Regions from separate parts of the Homo sapiens genome. Here regions 2, 3, 4 and 5 are each linked to region 1. Evidence: promoter capture Hi-C in 16 types of primary human blood cells and fetal thymus (Javierre and others, 2016). All regions are on one chromosome and are shown on one strand. The core of a region is centred on a gene start or on the middle of the fragment in contact, and the rest is flanking DNA. Distances in the headings are between cores, read along the strand shown. Region 1 holds the start of ZNF45 (zinc finger protein 45). Region 2 overlaps ZNF569 (zinc finger protein 569). Region 3 holds the start of LOC728485 (a long non-coding RNA gene). Region 4 overlaps ZNF875 (zinc finger protein 875). Region 5 overlaps ZNF569 (zinc finger protein 569).

Evidence for each region. The method cuts DNA at HindIII sites, captures the fragments that hold promoters and counts their contacts. A CHiCAGO score of 5 or more calls a contact.
Region 2: a fragment that was not itself captured here is called in contact with the fragment with the promoter of ZNF45 in region 1 in 2 of 17 cell types (activated CD4 T cells and total CD4 T cells); the score reaches 6.6 in activated CD4 T cells.
Region 3: a contact is called between a fragment that was not itself captured here and the fragment with the promoter of ZNF45 in region 1, in 1 of 17 cell types (non-activated CD4 T cells). The highest score is 6.5, in non-activated CD4 T cells.
Region 4: a fragment that was not itself captured here is called in contact with the fragment with the promoter of ZNF45 in region 1 in 2 of 17 cell types (naive CD4 T cells and non-activated CD4 T cells); the score reaches 8.4 in naive CD4 T cells.
Region 5: a fragment that was not itself captured here is called in contact with the fragment with the promoter of ZNF45 in region 1 in 1 of 17 cell types (total CD4 T cells); the score reaches 9.4 in total CD4 T cells.

Annotation. Positions count from the first base shown.
Region 1 is chr19:43,933,984-43,936,683 of GRCh38, reverse strand. It overlaps ZNF45 (zinc finger protein 45), which reads left to right and starts at 1,402. Exons shown (of 10, transcript NM_003425.4): 1 at 1,402-1,760; 2 at 1,990-2,258. It overlaps ZNF45-AS1 (ZNF45 antisense RNA 1), which reads right to left. Exons shown (of 3, transcript NR_184050.1): 3 at 870-2,700. The HindIII fragment of the contact is 8,828 bases long and covers 1-2,700 here.
Region 2 is chr19:37,442,726-37,445,425 of GRCh38, reverse strand. It overlaps ZNF569 (zinc finger protein 569), which reads left to right. Exons shown (of 6, transcript NM_152484.3): 3 at 462-519. The coding sequence starts at 505. Among named protein-coding and RNA genes, the nearest start is that of ZNF569, 23 kb to the left of the region's middle. The HindIII fragment of the contact is 1,197 bases long and covers 829-2,025 here.
Region 3 is chr19:36,773,059-36,775,758 of GRCh38, reverse strand. It overlaps LOC728485 (a long non-coding RNA gene), which reads right to left and starts at 2,606. Exons shown (of 2, transcript NR_164117.1): 1 at 2,250-2,606; 2 at 1-373. RefSeq lists an enhancer at 2,692-2,700. The HindIII fragment of the contact is 5,631 bases long and covers 1-2,700 here.
Region 4 is chr19:37,342,927-37,345,626 of GRCh38, reverse strand. The region is part of intron 2 of ZNF875 (zinc finger protein 875); the gene reads right to left. Among named protein-coding and RNA genes, the nearest start is that of ZNF875, 9.6 kb to the right of the region's middle. The HindIII fragment of the contact is 669 bases long and covers 990-1,658 here.
Region 5 is chr19:37,419,145-37,422,029 of GRCh38, reverse strand. All of the region lies in intron 5 of ZNF569 (zinc finger protein 569), which reads left to right. Among named protein-coding and RNA genes, the nearest start is that of ZNF569, 47 kb to the left of the region's middle. The HindIII fragment of the contact is 3,084 bases long and covers 1-2,885 here.

The sequences.
Region 1 (2,700 bases), core at 153-2,652:
TGCTCAGGAAAGAATTCAACAGCAAGCCAGCAGCGGAAGAAAGCAGGTTTATCGAATCAACAGTGTTAAAAGCTCAGTGACTGTTCCTTGCAGACCAAGACTAGCCCACAGGCAGTGTGCCCAGAGTAGCAGCATATGGGCTGTTGGCTGGGTATATTTATACCAACTTTTCATTACATGCAAATTAAGGGGTGAGTTACTCGGAAATCTCTAGAAAAGGGGTTGGTAACTTCCAGGTGTTGCCATGGCATTTATAAACCGTCACGGCGCTGGTGGGAGTGTCTTATACTGATAGGTAGCAAAGGGAACTTACAGGTTGCTTTCCATCACTTGCTGGTTTCAGCAGGTTTCTTATCTGATCTTGGAATCACGCCCTGCTGGTCTCCTGCCTCAGCCTAAATTGAACATTGTTCAGATGTTTACAGCTACTCCTATGTAGTCAACTTCCATTTTTTCTTCTTTACCCTTTCATAATAAACTTGGAAAAATATTTAGTTTCTACCTAGGAGAAAAGTGAATAGTATAGCTTTCTGTATTTTTTGCACTTCATGTCTTAATCCCTCACTTCACCTCCCTCTCCTTACTGAATATTCATAGACACTTTGGCAAATCATAAGACACCTTTACAGATTCCTGATTCTGAGAGCAAGAAGTGATGTGATTCCTTAATCTGAACTGAATGTTTTCAAGATTTTATATAGGATAGAGCCTATTCAATACTATAATACTTTCTTCAGTATCCTGCGAATGAAAGAAAACTAAGCGCAAGAAAAGTGGAGAATTTTGCTGCTTTTGTTTCATGTCCTGCTGGATGATTGCATCTCCTTTTTTGAGCATTTTTAATCACAGATGAATCCATACCCATATTATAAAAGGCTTGTTGCTCTGGGCGGCTCTGGCCACCTCTTTTATTACCTCTGTTTTTAGCTCACACATAGCATTCCTTTGTATTTTCCTTTTTTTTTTTCATATTCGCAACTTCTGTCACGTATAAAAGGGAACAATGGCAAAAGGAAAAAGCAGGCTGAGCTCTACAAGCAATGACTTAGACTCCCCCCGCTAATTCAAAAGGAAAATTGCAGGCTGGCGGGAAGCTCAGCCCTACAGAGGATTCTGGGACGTGTGGTCCAGACTTTTGGGGGCACTTCAGCTCTGGGAAAGCGCGGCTTTGTTATTTGCTCCCCTGGGGAAATAGGAACCTATACCCCAGTGCTCAGTGGGTTCGGTGGTACTTCGACTATTTGAGGACGAGAACACGAAGCCCGCTCCCCTTGGGGATTCTGAGAAATAAGATTCGGCCGTGGGAGTCGAAGCCCGCACTTCCGCCCAGGGGGCGGGGCAGCGGCTTCCGTTCCTCCCGGGGATGCTGGGAAATGTAGTTCCAGAGCTCCCTGCTCTCCCGGGCACTTCCGCGGCAAGAGGTTGAGAGCGCGGCCTTCATTCCTCTCGTGGAAGTGAGTGAGTCCTGGGACCCCGCGACCTGTTTTAACTTTTATGGTTTGGTCGTAGGATCAGCAGGGCTCGCACTTCGGTCAGCAGGAAAAGACGCTGCGGCGAGCAGCGGAGGGCGGAGTTGAATGGCTGGGCAGCTGATTGCCTTACTGTATCCGGAGCTGCTGCGTTCGGGGCGGTTCGGGAGTCCCCTGGTTGGAAGTGGACCTGAATGGGGAGGCGTCTGAGGATCTCCTGGGCTCTCAGCGGCCCGACCCGCCTTCCCCCACCTCCCACAGCTCTGTAGCTTCCTAGCGGTGTAACGTTGGGTGAGAACTTAATCTTTCGGTGCTTAGTTTCTGGTCTTAGTTTCCTCTTCTGCAAAAGGAAATATTAACCTTATATATTTGTTTTGACAATTAGTAATATAGTACAAGTAAAATGTGTATGGAATAGTACAGGAATGTGGCAACATGTCGGCCGTTAATATTAAAACTATCATAATAAAAAATATTCATTTTTCAGCAAGCGCCTGGCTCTTCTTTCTGATTCCTGCAGGAAAGGAGGCTGTTCTTGGACTATGCCTGACCCGTTTTTTAAGAAAGAGTGCATCACTCAACAGGTGGCGTCTGGAGTTATCCTCTGTGGATTTTCCAGGATCTCAGACAAGATCGTGCAATCTCCCAGCCTCCTTTCCTTCCCCTGCCCTGACTTCTGAAAGAATGCTGCGGGAGAGGAGGAAGGAGAGCATCCTGGCTTCTGGCAGCAGAGCCCCACTGTGACAGGACCTAGCATTCACCTTCCTCTTCTGTTCCGAGTGCGAGAAGGTATTTCATTCCTTGCAAATGTTTCTGCTACAGAAGTGTTCCGTTATTGTATAATTGGAGAAAATGTGACATGAATATTAGTCACACTAGTTAAACATTGGGTGCTGAGTATCACTCTGAGGGCTTTATAAAAACTAACACACTGAACCTTCACAAAGGCCTTGTGTTGTGGGTTCTGTTCACCTTACAAAGGTGATGTGGGTATTGTGATATGGGTACTGTTATTACACCAATTATACAGATGAGGAAATGGAGAGAGCCTAATTTACTTTCCTATATCACAGTGCTAGTAAGAACAGTGGGATTTGTGTCCTAGACTTGGGTTCCTTACATCTGAATACCCTTGGTCTCACAGTTTGAAATCCCAATTTAGAATTAGGAAATAAAATAGATAAATGATCCATATAAATAATCATAGGAAACTGGCTGCAGAGGAGCCATT
Region 2 (2,700 bases), core at 178-2,677, 6.5 Mb after region 1:
TAACTCTCTTACCATCAGTACCTCCGATACACATTACTCACACATAAAAACTTTTTATTTGTTCCTCAAGATATATCACCTTTTAAATTCTTTTAAATTGCTACTTCTTTTTTAATTGCTAATTATGACTGTCTTAAATGTCTCAATACTTTAAAATACTTTAGGTGTTTTGTCAGTTTCATAATTTTCCTGCATATATGCTTTCATGATGCTACATGTATTCTCTGATACAGAGCTCCCACATACGCACCCCTGTTTCTATCCACCCTGTGCCCAAGCTCTGCATGATTATTCCAATCATCCTCACACCTATTAAGAACCTTTGTGGTATGAATATTCTTGGCATTTCTGATAGATTTAATTATCATTCCACTACAGGGTGACCTTTAATCCACCCTGTGTGTGCATGTTTCTGAAACTAAAGACAGGCCTATTTTAATGACTTTTATTCTCTTCCCCAGCTCTACTTCTGCAGGCCCCATCCCTTCCCAGAAAGAAGAGGAAATGACTGAGTCCCAGGTAAATGTTAAATAGTGTATTTGTTTCTTGCCTTACTCTCCAATGCAATTTAAGGGGATTGCAGTAATTCATACAGTAAATTATAAAGGTCTGTATACATAAAACATATTTTCAGGGGAAATAGAGTTGAACGATTAAAACTAGGGAAGAGTTAAAATGTGGGTATTTTATGAAATTCATTCAGAGAGATTAAAGCTGGGCTTCAAATTTAAATTTCCTTTTTACAGGTAAAGAAAACCAGAGCAAAAATTTGTTACATAATTTTCATTGTAACAATAAAAAATCAACATTTTCTAACAGAAATAAGCTTTTCATTGATACCTAGGTCAATGAAAACATTGTAGTGTTACTTCTTGTAGTTGATAAACCTAGCTCTTTTGATGTTCTCTTTCGATCAAGGATAAAACAAAGTGTAACTATCAAAATAGCCCAGCATTAGAAACAATGCAAATGAAAATTAACAGGAAAAGGAATAAATTATAGTATTTCACACGGTGAAATACTACTTAACAATAAAAAAGAACAGATGACTGTTACACGCAACAACCAACATGGATAGATTACACAAACATAGAATGAAAGAAGCCAGAAACAAAAAAGTATATATCATAGGGTTCCATTCATATAAAGTTGAAAATGGGCAAAACTAATGTATTGTGATAGAAGTCAGAATACTGGTTACCTCTGAGAGGGTATTTACTGTGAAACAGCATGAAGAAATCTGGAGGGGTGAAAATGTTCTGTATTTTGACTTACTGGTAGGTACCCATGTCTATAAATGTATACAGATTTATCAGATTTTATGCTTAAGACTAGTCCATTTTACCACATTACTCTATGCATGTCATACATAAATTTATTTATTTATTTACTTATTTATTTATTTTTTGAGATGGAGTCTTGCTCTGTTGCCCAAGCTGGAGTGCAATGGCACGATCTCAGCTCACTGCAACCTCTGCCTCCCGGGTTCAAGTGATTCTCTTGCCTCAGCCTCCATTGTAGCTGGGATTATAGGCACCCACCAGCACGCCTGGCTAATTTTTTTTTTTTTTTTGTATTTTTAGTACAGATGGGATTTCACCATGTTGGCCAGGTTGGTCTCAAGCTCTTGACCTCAAGTGATCCACCTGCCTTGACCTCCCACAGTGCTGGGATTATAGGTGTGAGCCACTGCGCCCGGCCCGTAAATTTAAAGAGAGAAAACTAGACTATCTTAAGAAAGAGGTGGGATGTGTGTCTTTCAGATGACCCTATGTAATTATCTTTTTCAATGGGCATTTGCTGCTGATTGAGCCACACTGTAATCATTTCTGGTAAATTCTTAAAATTTTAACCACTAGAATGTAAGCAGAGAGTGTGTTTTACTTTGTTTACTGCTGTATCTCCAGTACCTAGAAGATCACCTAGTACACTTGATATTCTGTGAATACTTGTGGTTTTCTTTCAGATTTATCCTACACTCTCAGATACTGAACATATTTTACTTTTTACCCTCAGCTCAAAGCTTTGCTCTTCTGAGATATACCTTTCTTTGACCGTGGTTTTTTTTGTTTGTTTTTTGTGTTTTGGAGTCTCACTTTTTGCCCAGGGTGGAGTGCAGTGATGCGATCTTGGCTCACTGCAACCTCTGCCTCCCAGGTTCAAGCAATTCTCCTGCCTCAGCCTCCCGAGTAGGTGGGATTACAGGCGTGCGCCACCATGCCCAGCTAATTTTGTGTTTTTAGTAGAGACAGGGTTTCACCCTGTTGGCCAGGCTGGTCTCCAACTCCTGACCTCGGGTTATCTGCCCGCCTCACAAAGGCTGGGATTACAGGCGTGAGCCTCAGCACCCGGCCGACCATGTATTTTTATCTGCCAGCTTCTATATATCTCCAGTTTCTTCCTCAGGCACACTCAGTTAATTTTCAAAATGAACATACCTGTGTAACACAGCGCACACACTCAGTGAAGAAATACAGAATTACCCTAGCACTCTAGGATACCTTTTCTATACTTCCTAGTCATCACCCCCACCCCAGGAGTGTTCAACTTTTATCACCATAAATTGTTTCTTCCTGTCTTTTAACTTTATATAATCTGTGTATTCTGTGTCTGGCTTTTGTTTAATATTATGTTTGTGAGATTCATCCATGTTAAATTGGTGCATCTAGTTGTAGTTCAGTTAATCTCATTGCTGAATAT
Region 3 (2,700 bases), core at 78-2,577, 7.2 Mb after region 1:
GGGGGAGGGTGTGTGTGAGTCGGGCGGCGGAGGCCGTCTACGCCATTGTAGGGGCGGGGGGAGCCGAGATTAGAGCATCAGCCTGAGAGAAGTGGTGCTTCTGGTTCTCCGCTCTGCCTCGCATCTTTCAGCGAGGCCTCGTACCTCAGTTTTCCCATCCGTGAAGTGGAGCTGGGCCTGCCTGACTCATTCATTCATCAGGTGGAGGCCTTGACGCTCTAGGAGCCCTTTCAAAGGACTTTGCCTTACACGAAATAGTACCTATCGTTATTCACTCTGCAGTAACCACCCGGATTTGAGTGGCGGGTGTTTGCACAGTAATTCAGTTTCCTCTTCACCCTCCTGCCATTCGTCTTCCCCTCCAGTTTATCTCCTGAAAGAGTTTGAAATCAGCCTTGTCTATTATTGATAAACTCCTGTAGGTGTATTTGGTATTTCCCTTAAAACATGCAGACCAAAGGAAAGGCAATATTTTCCCCCCACGAAGCAGTTAACTTGGTAGAGGCCAGCCGTTGTATGGAAGAGAAAGAGAGTCTCTTCAGGACAGGCAGTTTGGATCCTGCTAAACCAGAATAAAAAATCTAGAACATGGGCCGGGCGAGGTGGCTCACGCCTGTAATCCCAGCACTTTGGGAGGCCAAGGCGGGCGGATCACGAAGTCAGGAGATCGAGACCATCTTGGCTAATACGGTGAAACCCCGTCTCTACGAAAAATACAAAAAATTAGCCGGGCGTGGTGGCGGGCGCCTGTAGTCCCAGCTACTCAGGAGGCTGAGGCAGGAGAATGGCTTGAACCCGGGAGGCGGAGTTTGCAGTGAGCCGAGATCACGCCACTGCACTCCAGCCTGGGCGACAGAGCAAGACTCCGTCTCAAAAAAAAATAAATAAATAAAAATCTAGAACATGGATGTCCCCTTGCTTTAGCAGACCTAGCTGATCACACAAGGTCCTGTATTGTTAGGCTGCATCACAGGCCGCAAAGACCCAGGTATCTATCCAGTTGTTAGAAACCATCCTGAGAGTTAGATACCACTTTTCTGTTGGAAATACAGACCATTTCCTGAAGCCGTATGGTTGAGGTAAAACAGGCCTTTTGCAGTCTTATATTTTGAGTAAGGCCAAAACTGCCTAGTGTTACAAAACCAGACAAAAAGCCCAGGTACCCAGTCTTGCAGGATAGAAATGTGTGACTAAAATGAAGCATCGATCTGAGAAGACTACAAATGAGCGGGAAAGATTGGACAGGAGCATGCTATACATTATTTAGATTAATGTTGATATTTAAGGAGCCAGGATATTGGTTTGTTTTTGAGGGGTGCCCATCTACTTTATGTAAGAAGCTATAAACTACACTTCTTTCAGTTTCTGCTTAATCCTTGCTCAAACAAGGAATAATTTCTTATTCCAAAGTAGACATTGGTACATCTTTTACTAGGTACATAATTTGGGATGAAGTCTGATAAAGCTCCTTAGAAGTACTTACAGTACACCCTCACAAGGGTGTACCATCTACCCATGGTTTAAACAGAAATTAAAATTCTACCTTCGTGGAAAAATTTGCCAAGTTTTAATGGATTCAGTGCTCATTAAAAACTTTTAGCCTGTCTTGATCTTTAACATAATTATTGGTGTGAAACAATGGCTTCTGTGGAAAATTAAAGTTTTAGTGGTTTGCTATTTGTGAAATACAGGCTTTTTCATGTATCATATTAGCATATAAGCTGGCTTAATCATTAGTACTGATCTTCAAGTTACTAAGACACCAGATATTTGTTACTTTGTAATTTGAGTTTTTAAAAAAATTCCGAAATTGGCTTTTCGATGTGTGAAAAGGACTACTTATTAGATGCTTGTTTTTAAATTTACATTCAATTAATTAAAGCTAGACTCTTTATATTCTTAGGCTTGGTATACTATTTGTATGTTTTGTAGTAAGTGTATAAAAATAATACCTTTGACTTTGTATAAAAAAAATCTTTCTTGCTTTAAAAGCCATGTTGGATTTGCATTCTAGACCGTAATAAATATAACTACTTTAACATAAAAATCTATTTATGTTGTTTATCAGATATTAGGGGTTTTTTTCCCTCTCCTGTCAACCTCCAAATAAAATCGATGCTCCAGAATGATGCCCTCTTATCATAATTTTACAAATACCTGGCTCCAAGGTTACTACCTGATACAAAAATACAATGCTGGTCTCCCAAACAGGCAACTCACATTGACACTCACACAGCTTCCACTCACACCTGCGATCACAAGGCAGCATCTTCGGGCCCTCGTCGGCCACGATCCGCTCCCAGAGAGCATTCGCGCACAATCTTATCCCATCCACGATTTTGATTCCTTTTCTCCCACTTCTTCAACCCTATCCGGGACGAGACCATCAGGTCCCACCTCCACCTTCACCTTCATTTTCCGCGCAATGCAGACTGAGCCCTGGACTCACCCATATACAGATTGAATTGTCCGGTCAGTGTTTCATCCCCTCTGCATTCTGAGGGCGAGTTAGCATCTGGGTGCATGAGTTCCAAACTAACAGCCAGGACCAGGCTTGGAGCCAAGAATCCTTTGGCTCGCATCGTGGCTGGGTTGACCGCTTTTCTGCCCTGGACTACATTTCCCATCGGTTCTACCGTTCGGGGCTACTTCCGCCGAGAACCGGAAGCACGTTTTCCTGTGTCTTACCCCAGATAACAG
Region 4 (2,700 bases), core at 75-2,574, 6.6 Mb after region 1:
AGTTGGCTGACGGTGACTCATGCTGGGGGTCTATCAGCCGCAACACACTATTGGAGACTGCCTCACCAGCGTCATTCATTTAGGTACATGCCTTGTCTCTTTGATTTTGCATCCCCTTCTCAGAATGCCTCCATCACTCCTTGAGGGTATGACATTGTGTCTCTAAAACTAATTCCACACTGTACCCTTCCCAGGGAATCCTCCCTACATTTCCTGTCCCCTACCAGCTCCACTATTCTACACTGGCTGGACTATGAAATGGCCTTAAGACTCTACCTACACTCAGTTATATCGATAGCTGTCCCCAAACCCAGCCAGTCCCAATGTACTTAATCGCAAGAGAAGAGCACAGATGAGTGAGGGCTTTGGTTCTCATACCTCATCTCTCTCTGGCTATATTTTAGAGCTACCTGGGTGGTGTTTTAAATTATGGATTCTTGAGTCCCACCACAAATCCGTAAAACCAGGGGATGGGGCTTTTGTACTTTCAAAGGCTCCTAAAAGTAGTGTGATGGTTGTGAATCACTGGGTCAGAGTAATCTCAAGAGGGAGAGGTCACTGTAGGATTGAGGATCAGGAAAAGTTCATGAGAAGGAGGTACTCACTGAGAATCTAGGTGATGGGTATGTGAGTGTTCAATGTACAAGGCTTCCTGGTTTTTTCCATATGTCTGAAACTGTTCATCATTAAACACTGGAGAGAAAAAGGCTATTCAGGTATCTGCCTAGTCCCTGTTGTGATTTGCTTTTACAACCCCTTCTCAGAACATACACACATACACCCCTTGAAAATCTCCCACGAAGGAGCTACATCACAGAGCAATTAGTGTTACTTTAACACATTTAATACAACCGTTATTCCTCCAGCCCCGGAACAACTCATGGTTTGTCTGTGAACCATGCATGTAGGGAGCATTGTAGACACTGTGTGGTTGACCCTCATGATTCACTCCAAATCTCTCCCACTGAGTAGAAACACAGCTAGAAGCTTGGGGGAGTTAATTCATCTGCTTGCCAGCTGAAAAATAAATATATGAAAAATGAATGGTAACCAACAGGCCACAAGAAGCCTTACCGTAGGATTCTAGCAAAAGACTTCGTCATTTGTAAGATGGAGTCACAGGAATTAAGCACTTTTCCTGATGCTCAGAAACATGGGCACAGATTACCCAAAAGAGGCAGCAGGGCTTAGTGCACTGGCTCAATGTGTGTTCCCTGAACCTGCAGCACCAGCATCCCCTGGGAACTTGTTAGAAATAAAAATTCTCAGTCCCCATCCTAGGGCTACTGAATCAGAAATTGCGGGGGGAGCCCAGCAATGTTTGAACAAGGCTTCCAAGTAATTCTGATGCACACTAAAGTTTAACAACTACTCAGTGGCTAAAAGCACAAACTCTGGAGACAAACTGTGTTCAAATTACAGTCCCCTCTCTCCTCCCTCCCCTATGACTTTGCGTTGATATCTTAATATCTGTGTCTCAATTTCCTATAAAATCGATATTATAATAGTACTTACCTTATGGGGCCATTGTGAGAATTAAACAAAGTTGCTATTGGCAGACATCCTATGGCTTTGAGGGGAACCAGCCTGGATGAGGCTGACACTGTAGAGAACAGGGTAGACTGCAGAGATGAAAGCACCCCAGTCCTTGGGAAGCTTATGGAGCTGAAGGACCAACCCCAAAGTGCACTCTCTCTGTGAACTTCTTTTTATATAGGCTAAGTTACTTATTGTTTAGAACAGCCTAAATTAGGTTTACTGTTGCTTGCGGCCAAAAGCATTGTATCTAACCAGTGGATGGGTACAGTGATGGCCCCAGTGAATCATGCCTCCCTGTTTCTACCCTTCATGCAGTCTCCTCCTAAATTAACCCTGGGCTTGGCCATGGGACCTGCTTTATCCAGTGGGACACCAGCAAACATGATGCAAGCAGATGTTTGAGAGGCATCTGAGTTCAGGGCTGGCCTTCTCGCTGTGCAAGAAACCTTGAGACCACCATGTGAATAACCTGAGCTTGCCTGCTGAAGAGGCCACATGGAGAAGAACCAGGAATTGAAGCATCCCAGCCAACCAAGCTGTCAACCACCAGACAGGTTGAGACCATCCAGCTGTAGCTGAGCAGCCAGCTAACTACAGCCACATGAGGATGCCAAGAGGATCAGCTCAGCCATGCCGGGCCTACTTGCTGACCCACAGGATTTTGAAAAAATGATTTCATTTTAAGCTGCTAAGTTTGTTTGGTTTTTTTTTTTTTTTGGTTTTATTTTATTTATTCTTTATTTTTTGGAGATAGTCTCACTCTGACACCTAGGCTGGAGTGCAATGACGTGGTCTCGGCTCACTGCAACCTCTGCCTCCTGGGTTCAAGCGATTCTCCTGCTCCCGCCTCAGCCTCCCAAGTAGCTGGGACTACAGGTGTGTACCACCACACCCGGCTAATTTTTGTATTTTTAGTAGAGACGGGGTTTCACTATGTTGGCCAGGCTGGTCTCGAACTCCTGACCTCATGATCCGCCCGCCTCGGCCTCCCAAAGTGTTGGGATTACAGGTGAGAGCCACTGTACCAGGCCTAAGCCGCTATGTTCTTTAGGCCACTAAGTTGGTACACAGAAGTGAAGTGCTGCCATAACAAAATACCTAAAACATGTGGCATTAGCTTTGGGAGCAGGACATGGGCAGAGGCTTGGAAAGCATCCAGGA
Region 5 (2,885 bases), core at 166-2,665, 6.5 Mb after region 1:
GCCTGTAATCCTAACACTTTGGCAGGCTGAGGCCGGTGGATTGCTTGGGCCCAGGAGTTCAAGACCAGACTGGGCAACATGGTGAAACCCTGTCTCTACTAAAAATACAGAAATTAGCCGGATGTAATGGTGCATGCCTGTAGTCCCAGCTGCTTGGGAGGCTGAGACGAGAGGATTGATTGAGTCTAAGAGGTGGAGGTTGCAATGAGCTGAGATCACACTACTGCATCCCAGCCTAGGTGACAGAGCAAGACCCTGTCTCAAAAAAAAAAAAAAAAAAAAAAAAGTGCCACTACAGTATACACACAAATGATAAGATGATAAGAAAGCAAAATAGCCTTATTGTTGATAGGGAGAAAGTTTTAGTTGTCTGGGTAGAAGATCAAACCAGCCACAGCATTCCCTTAAGCCAAAGCATAATCCAGGACAAGCCCCTAATTATCTTCAATTCTATGAAGGCTTAGAGGTGAGGAAGCTGCAGAAGAAAAGTTTGAAGCTAGCAGAGGTAGGTTCATAAGGTTTAAGGAAAGAGCCATCTCCATAACATAAAAATACAAGGTAAAGCAGTAAGAGCCGATGGAAGCTGCAGTAAATTATCCAGAAGATCTAGCTAAGATTATTGATGAGGGTGGCTAACTAAACAATAGCGTTCCGATGTAGATGCAACAGCCTTCTATTGGAAGAAGATGCCATCTAGGACTTTCACAGCTAGAGAGGTGAAGTCAGTGGCTGGCTTCAAAGTTTCAAATGACAGACTGACCCTCCTGTTATGGGCTAATGCAGGTGGTGACTTTAAGTTGGAGCCAGTATTCATTTCCCATTCTGAAAATCCTAGGGCCCTTAGGAATTATGCTAAATACACCCTGCTCGTGCTCTATAAATGGAATAACAAAGCCTGGACGACAGCACATCTGTTTACAGCATTGATTTGCTAAATATTTTAAGCCCACTGTTGATACCTACTGCTCACGAGAAAAAAAAGTTCCTTTGAAAATAGTATTGCTCATTGACAGTGCACTTGGTCACCCAGGAGCTCTAATGGAGATGTACAAGGAGATCAGTGTTGGTTTTCATGCCTGCTAATACAACATCCATTCTGCAGCTCATGGATCAAGCAGTAATTTTGACTTTCAAGTCTTATTATTTACGAAATACATTCTGTAATGTAATAGCTTCCATAGGTAATGATTCCTCTGATGGATCTGGGTAAAGTAAATTAAAAAGTGTAAAAACTGGCTGGAAAGGATTTATGTTTCCAGGTGCTATTATGAATATTCATGACTCAGGAGAGGAGATCAGAATATCAACAGGAGTTTGAAAGAGGTTCATTCGACACTCATGGATGACTTTGAAGGATTCAAGGCTTCAGTGGAGGAAGTAATTGTAGATGTGCAACTAGCAAGAGAAGTAGAATTAGAAGTAGAGCCGGAAGATGTGACTGAATTGCTGCAGTCTCGTGATTGCAGGGATAAGGATTACTTCTTATGGGTGAACAAAGAAAGTCATTTCTTTAGGATCTACTCCTGGTGAAGATGCTGTGCAAATTGTGGAAATCAATGATTTAGAATATTCCATAAATATAATTGATAAAGCAGTGGTAGGATTTGAGAGGAGTGACTACAGTTTTGAAAGAAGTCCTACTGTGGGTAAAGTACTATCAAACAACATCACATGCCACAGAGAAACTTTTTGTGAAAGAAAAGTCAATCAATGTGACTCTTCATTGTTATCTTAAGAAATTGGGGCCGGCGCAGTGGCTCACACCTGTAATCCGAGCACTTTGGGAGGCCGAGGTGGGCAGATCACGAGGTCAGGAGTTCGAGACTAGCCTGGCCAACATAGTGAAACCCCGTCTCTACTAAAAACACAAAAAAAATTAGCCTGGCGTGGTGGCGCACACCTGTAATCCCAGCTACTCAGGAGGCTGAGGCAGGAGAATCGCTTGAACCTGGGAGGCAGAGGTTGCAGTGAGCAGAGATCGAGCCACTGCACTCTAGCCTCTGCACTCTTGCCTGGGCGACAGAGGGAGACTCTGTCTCAAAAAAAAAAAAAAAAAAAAAGAAAGAAAAGAAAAAAGAAATTGCTACAGCCACCCCAACTTTCTGTAATCCCCCCTTGATTAGTCAGCAGCCATCAACATTGAGATTGAGGAAGACACCTATCAGCAAAAAGATTATGACTCACTGAAGGTTCAGATGATTGTTAGCATTTTTAAGCAATATTTTAAAATTAAGGTGTACATTTTTTAGACATGATGCTGTTATATACGTAATAGACTAAGTATATAGTATTAAATTTTTTTTTTTTGAGACGTAGTCTCTCTTAGTTACCCAGGCTGGAGTGCAGTGGCATGATCTCGGCTCACTGCAACCTCCACCTCCCAGGTTCAAACGATTCTCCTGCCTCAGCCTCCCAGTAGCTGGGATTACAGGCGCCTGCCACCACGCCCGGCTAATTTTTTTGAATTTTTAGTAGAGACAGGGTTTCACCATATTGGCCAGGCTGGTCTTGAACCCCTGACCTCAAATGATTCACCCACCTCGGCCTCCCAAAGTGCTGGGATTACAGTCGTGAGCCACCGCACCCAGCCAACATAACTTTTATATGCACTGGGAAACCAAAAATGTTGTGTGACATGCTTTATTGTGGTGGTGTGGAACTGAACCCACAGTATCTCTGAAGTATGCCTGTGTTTCTATTTTGAATTATTGATTTGTAGATTTTAATTTATTATCTTTTTGTATATTCGTTGTAATATATTTAGTCAAGATTATCATTTATGTAAACTATCAGTAAACATACAACCTACAGAATGGGAGAAAATATTTGCAAACTATGCATCTGACACAGTCCTAATATCCAGCATCTATAAGGAACTTAAATTT